Linked DNA regions of Homo sapiens: region 2 is linked to region 1. Evidence: promoter capture Hi-C in 16 types of primary human blood cells and fetal thymus (Javierre and others, 2016). All regions are on one chromosome and are shown on one strand. Each heading gives the region's core, a stretch centred on a gene start or on the middle of the fragment in contact. The rest is flanking DNA. Distances are from core to core; before and after follow the strand shown. Region 1 holds the start of MYCL (MYCL proto-oncogene, bHLH transcription factor). Region 2 overlaps LOC105378669 (a long non-coding RNA gene).

Region 1 (4,134 bases), core at 300-2,799:
CTTCAAGATGTCCCACATGCAGCACAGACCCAACGTATCTAAAACGGAAGGCTGTCATTTTCCCTGCCTTCCCAACCCATATAACAACACACATCCGTGTCCCATGCTCCAACCACACTGAATTGCTTGCCCTTCTCACTTCCGTCTGCCAACAGTGAGTAGTTTGGTGTTCTTAGACCACAGGGGTGGGAGGGAAAGAGAGAGACAGCAGACAATCAGGCTGGGGTAGACAGACACCAGACCTTGATGCCAGGTGGAGGAATCTAGATGTATTGGCTGCTGTCCCAAGTTACTCTCCTCTGGCCTAAATCTCAGACTGGCCGTATAGTTTAATTTTTTCTCTTCCACCAAAGGTCATCTGTGTAGAAGATGACACAAAGGGGGACCCAGCACGGTGACCCGTGCCTGTAATCCCTGCACTTTCGGAGGCTAAGGAGGGAGGATCATTTGAGCCCAGGAGTTCGAGGCTGCAGCGAGTCATGATCGAGCCACTGCACTCCAGCCTTGACGCTGAGTGAGACCCTGTCTCTTAACAAAATATATTTAAAATTTAAAAAGAAGATTATACAAAGGGGTTATCTATCATCTTGGCCAGCAATGCAGGGCAAAACTTGAAACAACTTGGTCCTGCAGTATTTTCCAGATGCCAAATCCTCATTCTCTACTGTACAGCTCCTACAGTGTTTTGTGTGAGATGAGAGGGAGCATGGCGGGTCTCAGCTGGCTTTGCCCTGGGAAAAATTCCTCATTTCTGCACCGCCTCCCCAAAGCGGGGGCTAAGCCAGCGCCGTCTGCCTCTCCACCTAGACCAGACCCCTTCCCTAGATGCTCTTATTTCCCTGAAGCCTCACAACAACCCTGTGAGGTAAGCATTACCATCCCTTCATTTTACAGATGAAACTGAAGCTCAGGAAGGTTACGTTTCGGGCTCTAAATCCCGGAATCTTCGCTTCGATGCCATCCAGGCTTGGGCCACTGAGCTCAAGAAACGGGCCGACGGGTGACCAGACGGACGCCGGGACCAGCCCAAGTTCAGGGCTGAGGGCCGCCAGGTGGCGCGTTTCCCTCCCCCTACCCCTCGCGGCGGCTCGGGCGCACCTGAACCCAGCGGGGTGCGCCGGGGAAAGTAGGCGCGCAGGGTGGGGCGGGGAGTAGCCCTAATTCCCCAGCTCGGAGTGGGCAAGGAGCACGGTTTAGCTCAGCCGGCTGGCACCGCCAAGCGGCCGCCGGGCCGCATCAGCCCTCCTCCTGTTTGCGCTCCCCAGCGTGCAATTTATTTGGGGGGCTACCGGGGATTGAACGGAGCGGGCGAGCGCTGCCAGGAGGTGGGGCCGGCCCCACCTGTCGACTGCCCGTAGTAGGCAGGGAGAGGGCGGGGTTTGTCCCATAGGGCCCGCCCCCCAGTCCCTGGGTCCCGGGCGCGCGACGAGATATAAGGCAGTCAGGAAACAATGCGCCTGCAGCTCGCGCTCCCGCGCCGATCCCGAGAGCGTCCGGGCCGCCGTGCGCGAGCGAGGGAGGGCGCGCGCGCGGGGGGGGCGCGCTTGTGAGTGCGGGCCGCGCTCTCGGCGGCGCGCATGTGCGTGTGTGCTGGCTGCCGGGCTGCCCCGAGCCGGCGGGGAGCCGGTCCGCTCCAGGTGGCGGGCGGCTGGAGCGAGGTGAGGCTGCGGGTGGCCAGGGCACGGGCGCGGGTCCCGCGGTGCGGGCTGGCTGCAGGCTGCCTTCTGGGCACGGCGCGCCCCCGCCCGGCCCCGCCGGGCCCTGGGAGCTGCGCTCCGGGCGGCGCTGGCAAAGTTTGCTTTGAACTCGCTGCCCACAGTCGGGTCCGCGCGCTGCGATTGGCTTCCCCTACCACTCTGACCCGGGGCCCGGCTTCCCGGGACGCGAGGACTGGGCGCAGGCTGCAAGCTGGTGGGGTTGGGGAGGAACGAGAGCCCGGCAGCCGACTGTGCCGAGGGACCCGGGGACACCTCCTTCGCCCGGCCGGCACCCGGTCAGCACGTCCCCCCTTCCCTCCCGCAGGGAGCGGACATGGACTACGACTCGTACCAGCACTATTTCTACGACTATGACTGCGGGGAGGATTTCTACCGCTCCACGGCGCCCAGCGAGGACATCTGGAAGAAATTCGAGCTGGTGCCATCGCCCCCCACGTCGCCGCCCTGGGGCTTGGGTCCCGGCGCAGGGGACCCGGCCCCCGGGATTGGTCCCCCGGAGCCGTGGCCCGGAGGGTGCACCGGAGACGAAGCGGAATCCCGGGGCCACTCGAAAGGCTGGGGCAGGAACTACGCCTCCATCATACGCCGTGACTGCATGTGGAGCGGCTTCTCGGCCCGGGAACGGCTGGAGAGAGCTGTGAGCGACCGGCTCGCTCCTGGCGCGCCCCGGGGGAACCCGCCCAAGGCGTCCGCCGCCCCGGACTGCACTCCCAGCCTCGAAGCCGGCAACCCGGCGCCCGCCGCCCCCTGTCCGCTGGGCGAACCCAAGACCCAGGCCTGCTCCGGGTCCGAGAGCCCAAGCGACTCGGGTAAGGACCTCCCCGAGCCATCCAAGAGGGGGCCACCCCATGGGTGGCCAAAGCTCTGCCCCTGCCTGAGGTCAGGCATTGGCTCTTCTCAAGCTCTTGGGCCATCTCCGCCTCTCTTTGGCTGAAGCTGCCCGTGTAGTCCCCAACCGTGTCTGTCTGGCACGTGGGTGTGTTGGTAAACAGTTTGGAAAAGTGGCGTGGGAGCCAGCCTCCCTTTGATGATTATTGGAGCCCCAGGGGACAAGGGATTTGAGGTGAGGGTTGGCGCTTAGAGAGGACAATACTGGGGTTGGACTGTAAGGGATTGAAGGGGGTACCTTAAGAGACACTCCAAACCTGAAGTTTTTTTGCTGCTGCCTCTTTCCCTAGGAAACTCACACTCCCCTAGGGGGAGAAGAAGCCGAGAGCCTTTTGTGCAAAGCCAAAACCTTCGTCCTTTTAAAAACCTAGGTCTCCAGTTGGCTTTACTTTAAAATGCCAATAATAAATGCCCTCTTCTCGTGCCTCCCCACCACCACTTACCACTCGTGCATCCCTGAGACAGGGAGGGAAGAATGAACACTCCCCATTAACAGATGGAAAAACTGAGGCTTAGAGATAGACAATCACTACAAGTCAGCTCCAGCTTTCTGCCATCTAGCCAGCCCCTCTTCCCCAATGCTCCATCCCAACCAGGCACCTCTTCCTTGATGTTTGGGGTCTTTGTGGTAGCTTATCTTAGAAGCACTACACCTTGCCTTGCTGTTTGTCCTGAGATGGAAAAGTGTCCTTCTTGCTCCCCCTCAATAGATCTCCAGCGTCAGCTGCTCCCTGGCATTCAACAAATATTCACTGGCCCCTACTTTGTGGCAATCTGTGGGCTACATGCTGGGGTCAAGGCAGTAGAACTCCAGGCCCTCCTCTCCCATCCTTGATGCAAGTGCAACCTCGCTGAGGGCAGACTGGGGCATCCTGTGCCACTAAACTACATTGTTCTTATTCTGGCATCTTAGACCTCCACACCCGTGAGAAATCCTGGAGAGGGTATTTTTGTAGAGTGTAGACTGTGGCTAGTGACAAATAAATTAGGACCAAGAAAGCTCACTGTAGCTTTTAGGAATAACTTTTACACGACCATTTGATAGGGAACTGGGGAATGGGGTATGGAAGTTTTCCTACACTTGAGAGAAAAAATAGGATAACAAAAATTAAAAGTCTTTTTTTTCCTGGTCCACTGTGTTAAGGTCATTTTTAACCAGCTTGCTTTCTACACCAAGAGTTTATGTTTGTTTAATGGCTGGAAAGAGAATCTTGAGATCAAAAAACCAATAAAGATGTATCTCTACAACGGCTGGTGGAGTGGTAGAGTGGAAAGAGCATTGCTTTGGAAGTTGGACATTTTAGTTTGAGATCCAGAACGTTACAAAGGTGATATGTGGACTTCGCTGATCTGGGCCTCAGTTTCCCCATTTGCACACGATGGGGTTGGACTTGATTGTCCTGCTGATGACATTTCCTTGTCTGGATAGAGTAAGACACTACTCTCTGAAAGGGAGAATGGTGTCTTAAATTATTTCTTTCTTAGATAGAATCTTCCTGAGCCACGAGGCTTAACACTGAAAATTAAA
Region 2 (4,164 bases), core at 857-3,356, 120 kb before region 1:
CGAGGCAACTTATTTGCCTCCTATACACATCCTACATACAATGGTGGGAAAGGCTAGAGTTGCTCTACAGTTGCTCCCATGGCTAGAGTTGCTCTAGAGTTGCTCCCCTTCAAAACAAGGGAAAATGGGAGGCATACAGCAGAGACAACTCTGAAATCCAACTGATGTAGGTTGATTAGAGCTTAGTCCAATTGCCGGAGAGTTGTTCATTGTGGTTTCAGCTCCAATATCTGGGCTCTTGGTTACACTCTGAATCATCCTTCCTTTTCTATAAGAAAATTGAGTTTGTATCTGAGTAGCCTTCTCAGCCTGATTCCTCCCTATAAAAGGCATCTTTCCATTTTGTACTGTCTATGTCCCCATTAGTCCTAGCTGATAGATGCTTCTGCCAGAGCAATTCTCTTAGAAGCTTTGTGGGTTCCTTATGCATGAATTTATTATCCACTCCAACAAAAGCTACTCTCATAAATCTCTTTGAGATAAGCACTTCCTTCCCTTGAGAGACTGCTCCAAAATGTCCTTAAGATCTTTGGAGAGACTTTTTTTTCTATCAGATGGATTCTATAAAGCATCCTATAAAGCATTCTATAAAGGTCTTAACCTTTAACTTCTTTTTTAGATAATATTTTCCTGACAGTGTCTTGGATTTTACTTCTGCCCAGAGCCATTTCTTAACTTTAGAATCATTTACCATCTGGAGAGGCTGACAGTGAAAACAGTTTTATTTTCAAGCCAAGCCAAGTAAGTCCTGGTCCTAGATATAGATATGTGTGTGTGTGTGTGTGTGTATATATATATATATATATACACACACATATATATACACACATATATATACACATATATATACACATATATATATACACACACATATATATCAGCTTTATTGAGATATAATCCACATACCATACAAGTCTCCCATTTAAAACATACAATTCGATGTTTTTAGTATATTCACAGAGTTGTACAACTTTTACCATGATCAATCTTAGAACATTTTTATCACCCCAAAAAGGGACCTGGTACCCATTAATGGTCATACTCTGTCCCCCCTCACCCCTGCCACCTCTGTCTTAGTCTGTTTGTGCTGCTACAACAAAATACATGAGACTGAATAATTTATAAATAGTAGACATTTCTCACAGTTCTAGAGGCTTGGAAGTCCAAGATCAAAGCACTGGTGTTTGGCATCAGGTGAGGACCTTCTCACATGGCAGAAGAGATGGAACCCACCAACTCAAGCCCTTTTATAAGGGCCTTAATGCCATCCATGAGGGCTCGGCCCTTATTAGTCATCTCCTAAAGGCCCCACCTCTTAATACTATTACATTGGTGATTCAGTATCAACATATGAATCTTGGGGACACATTCAGAACACAGCACCCCACAACTCTCCCTGCCCAACCATAGGCAATCACTAATCTACTTGTCTCTATAGATTTGCCTATTCTGGGCATTTCATATGTTAAATAAAATGTATGGTCAGGCACAGTGGCTCACCTACCCAGCTAATTTTTTAAATTATCTGTAGAGATGAGGTCTTACTATGTTGCCCCGGGTGGTCTTGGGCTCAAGCAATCCTCCCTCCTCAGCCTCTCAAAGTGGTAGGATTACAGGTGTGAGCCACTGCACCCAGTCTTATAAATTGATTTTTTTTTTTTTTAAAAAAAGACAACTCAACCATCTGCAACAATAGGGGCTATGGTTCATCCCCCTAACCTCACTCATTCAGGTTTCTCCTCAGGAAGAGAGGCCTGTGAGAGCTGTAGAGGAACTTCTCTCCAATGATGTGGGGCAGGTGGATCTTGGCAGTGCAAGGGATGGGCTATGTGACCAAGGGGTGGACTGTGTGCACAATGTCTTACATCCACCTTCACAAAGAGAATCTGCTGTGAGGTGTAGAGGTAACTGCCGTACCTCTGGGATTTGCCACAGCATTCTTGCCAAGGCACGCTTTCCCTGGATTCATCCCAGCCAATGACCGAGCTCCAGGGCATACTACAGCTGGGCCATTTCTGCCTTATGTGGGACTCCTTCACTGGGCAATCAGCCTGGCCAAGAGTTTTTTCAGAGCTGCACTAACACTCGGAGCCTCTTCCTACCCAATCCTCCTTCTTTCCTTCTCTCCTCTCACGGGTGTCAGTCCTGCACCATGGCCTGAAGATTCTCCCTGTCTACTCCTGCTGCTTCTTATCTTTTCACTGCCATTTTCCACTTGAACTTTTTTCTTTTCTTTTTTTAGAGGCAGAGCCTTACTCTGTCACCCAGGCTGGAGTGCAGTGGCTCAATTATATCTCATTGTAACCTCGAACTCCTGGGCTCAAGCCGCCTCCCGTCCTCAGCCTCAATCTCTTGAGTAACTATCTGCCTTGAACTTGTGAGAGGACTCAAATTTATGCAGCTTTTAGCTGTTTCTAAGAAAAAGTTTGGTATGGGTGCTACCATAATGAAAGCCTAAAATGTGGAATTGGCTTTGAAACCACCTGGCTGACTGAGGCTGGAAGGACATTGAGGTGTGGCATGGTGGCTCACGCCTGTAATCCCAGCACTTTGGGAGGCTGAGACAGGTGGATCACCTGAGGTCAGGAGTTCAAGACCACCCTGGCCAATATGATGAAACCCTGTCTCTACTGAAAATAAAAAAATTAGCCGGGCGTGGTGGCAGGCACCTGTAATCCCAGCTACTCAGGAGGCTGAGACACGAGAATTGCTTGAACCTGGGGGACAGAGGTTGCAGTGAGCTGAGACTGCACCACTGCACTCCAGCCTGGGCAACAGAGTGAGACTCCATCTCAATAAATAAATTAATTAATTAAAATTTACAGGAGGCCATTGATTTGGACTAGGCTCCTGCACTCAGCCTAACAGACCAAACCAATGGAGTTTAACTACAGTGACTGAGCTGGGATTATAGGCATGCACCACCACACCCAGCTAATTTTTGTATTTTTAGTAGCGATGGGGGTTTCACCATGCTAGCCAGGCTGGTCTTGAACTCCTCACCTCAGGCGTTCCACCTGCCTTGGCCTCCCAAAGTGCTGGGATTACAGGCATGAGCCACTGCACCCAGCCTATTTTCTACATGATTTTGCAATGGCTTTCCAGCTTAAAATTTAGAGTCAATTTGTTCATATAAAGAGGATATCAAGTACCAATATCCTAAAATATTGACAAACTATTAAGTGTAAAACTCCCCCAAATTCAGTTTAATATGAAACATACTACATGTATCATAGAATTTTCAAATATCTCATGTCACATTAATAAAGAAAGGAAAAATTGGGTTACTGTTGCCAAAGATGTCACAGATAGTATAGAATTCTGACAGACAGGTCCAAGACAGGGAAGCAGTTTAAAACAAAACAAAACAAACAAACAAAACAGGTTTGACTTAATAGGTTATACTTAGAAAATGTTAGCCAATATTAGAGTACATATATTTTTGTCAAGAATTTCCATGGAGCTTTTATAAATATTGACCATGCTCCAGGTTACAAAACGAGTCTCAAACACCAAAGAATCAGTATACTTACCGCATTGGGTGTCTCATTATAACTGGAGGACAGTAAGAACAGTAACAGCAACACCTTAAAATACCCTGTATGTTGGAAAAACTTTAAATATAGTTACTGCTAAACTGATCAAAGAAGACACCATACAAGAAAGTATCAGAAAATACTTAGAACTGAATGATTTTAAGAGTGCTATATTGAAATTTATAGGATGTACTTAAGGAGAAATGCATAGCCTTAAGTGCTTATATTAGAAAAAAAGATAGGCTGGAATTTAAAGAGCTAAGCTTTAAAGTCAAGATGTTAGACAAAAATCAACAAAGAAAGCAGAAGTGGCCAGGCATAGTGGCTCACACCTGTAATCTCACCACTTTGGAGGCCAAGGCAGGAGAACTGCTTGAGGCCAGGAGTTCGAGACCAGCCTGGGCAGCATAGCGAGACCCCCAATCTCTAGAAAAAAATTTAAAAATTAGCCAGGCATGGTGTCTCAGTCTTTGCTACTTAGGAGACTGAAGCAAGAGGATCACTTGAGCCCAGGAGATCAAGTCTGAAGCGAGCCGTCATCACGTCACTGCACTCTAGCCTGGCAACAGAGCAAGACCCCATCTCTAAATAAATAAATAAAACAAAAAAAAAAAAAAAGGAAAGAAAG

What was found. The method cuts DNA at HindIII sites, captures the fragments that hold promoters and counts their contacts. A CHiCAGO score of 5 or more calls a contact.
Region 2: a fragment that was not itself captured here is called in contact with the fragment with the promoter of MYCL in region 1 in 2 of 17 cell types (M1 macrophages and M2 macrophages); the score reaches 6.6 in M1 macrophages.

What each region holds. Positions count from the first base shown.
Region 1 is chr1:39,899,332-39,903,465 of GRCh38, reverse strand. MYCL (MYCL proto-oncogene, bHLH transcription factor) reads left to right here and starts at 1,549. Exons shown (of 2, transcript NM_001033081.3): 1 at 1,549-2,527. The coding sequence starts at 2,032. RefSeq lists silencers at 976-1,185, 1,446-1,765, 2,176-2,295. The HindIII fragment of the contact is 9,554 bases long and covers 1-4,134 here.
Region 2 is chr1:40,024,143-40,028,306 of GRCh38, reverse strand. All of the region lies in intron 2 of LOC105378669 (a long non-coding RNA gene), which reads left to right. Among named protein-coding and RNA genes, the nearest start is that of CAP1, 15 kb to the left of the region's middle. The HindIII fragment of the contact is 3,390 bases long and covers 412-3,801 here.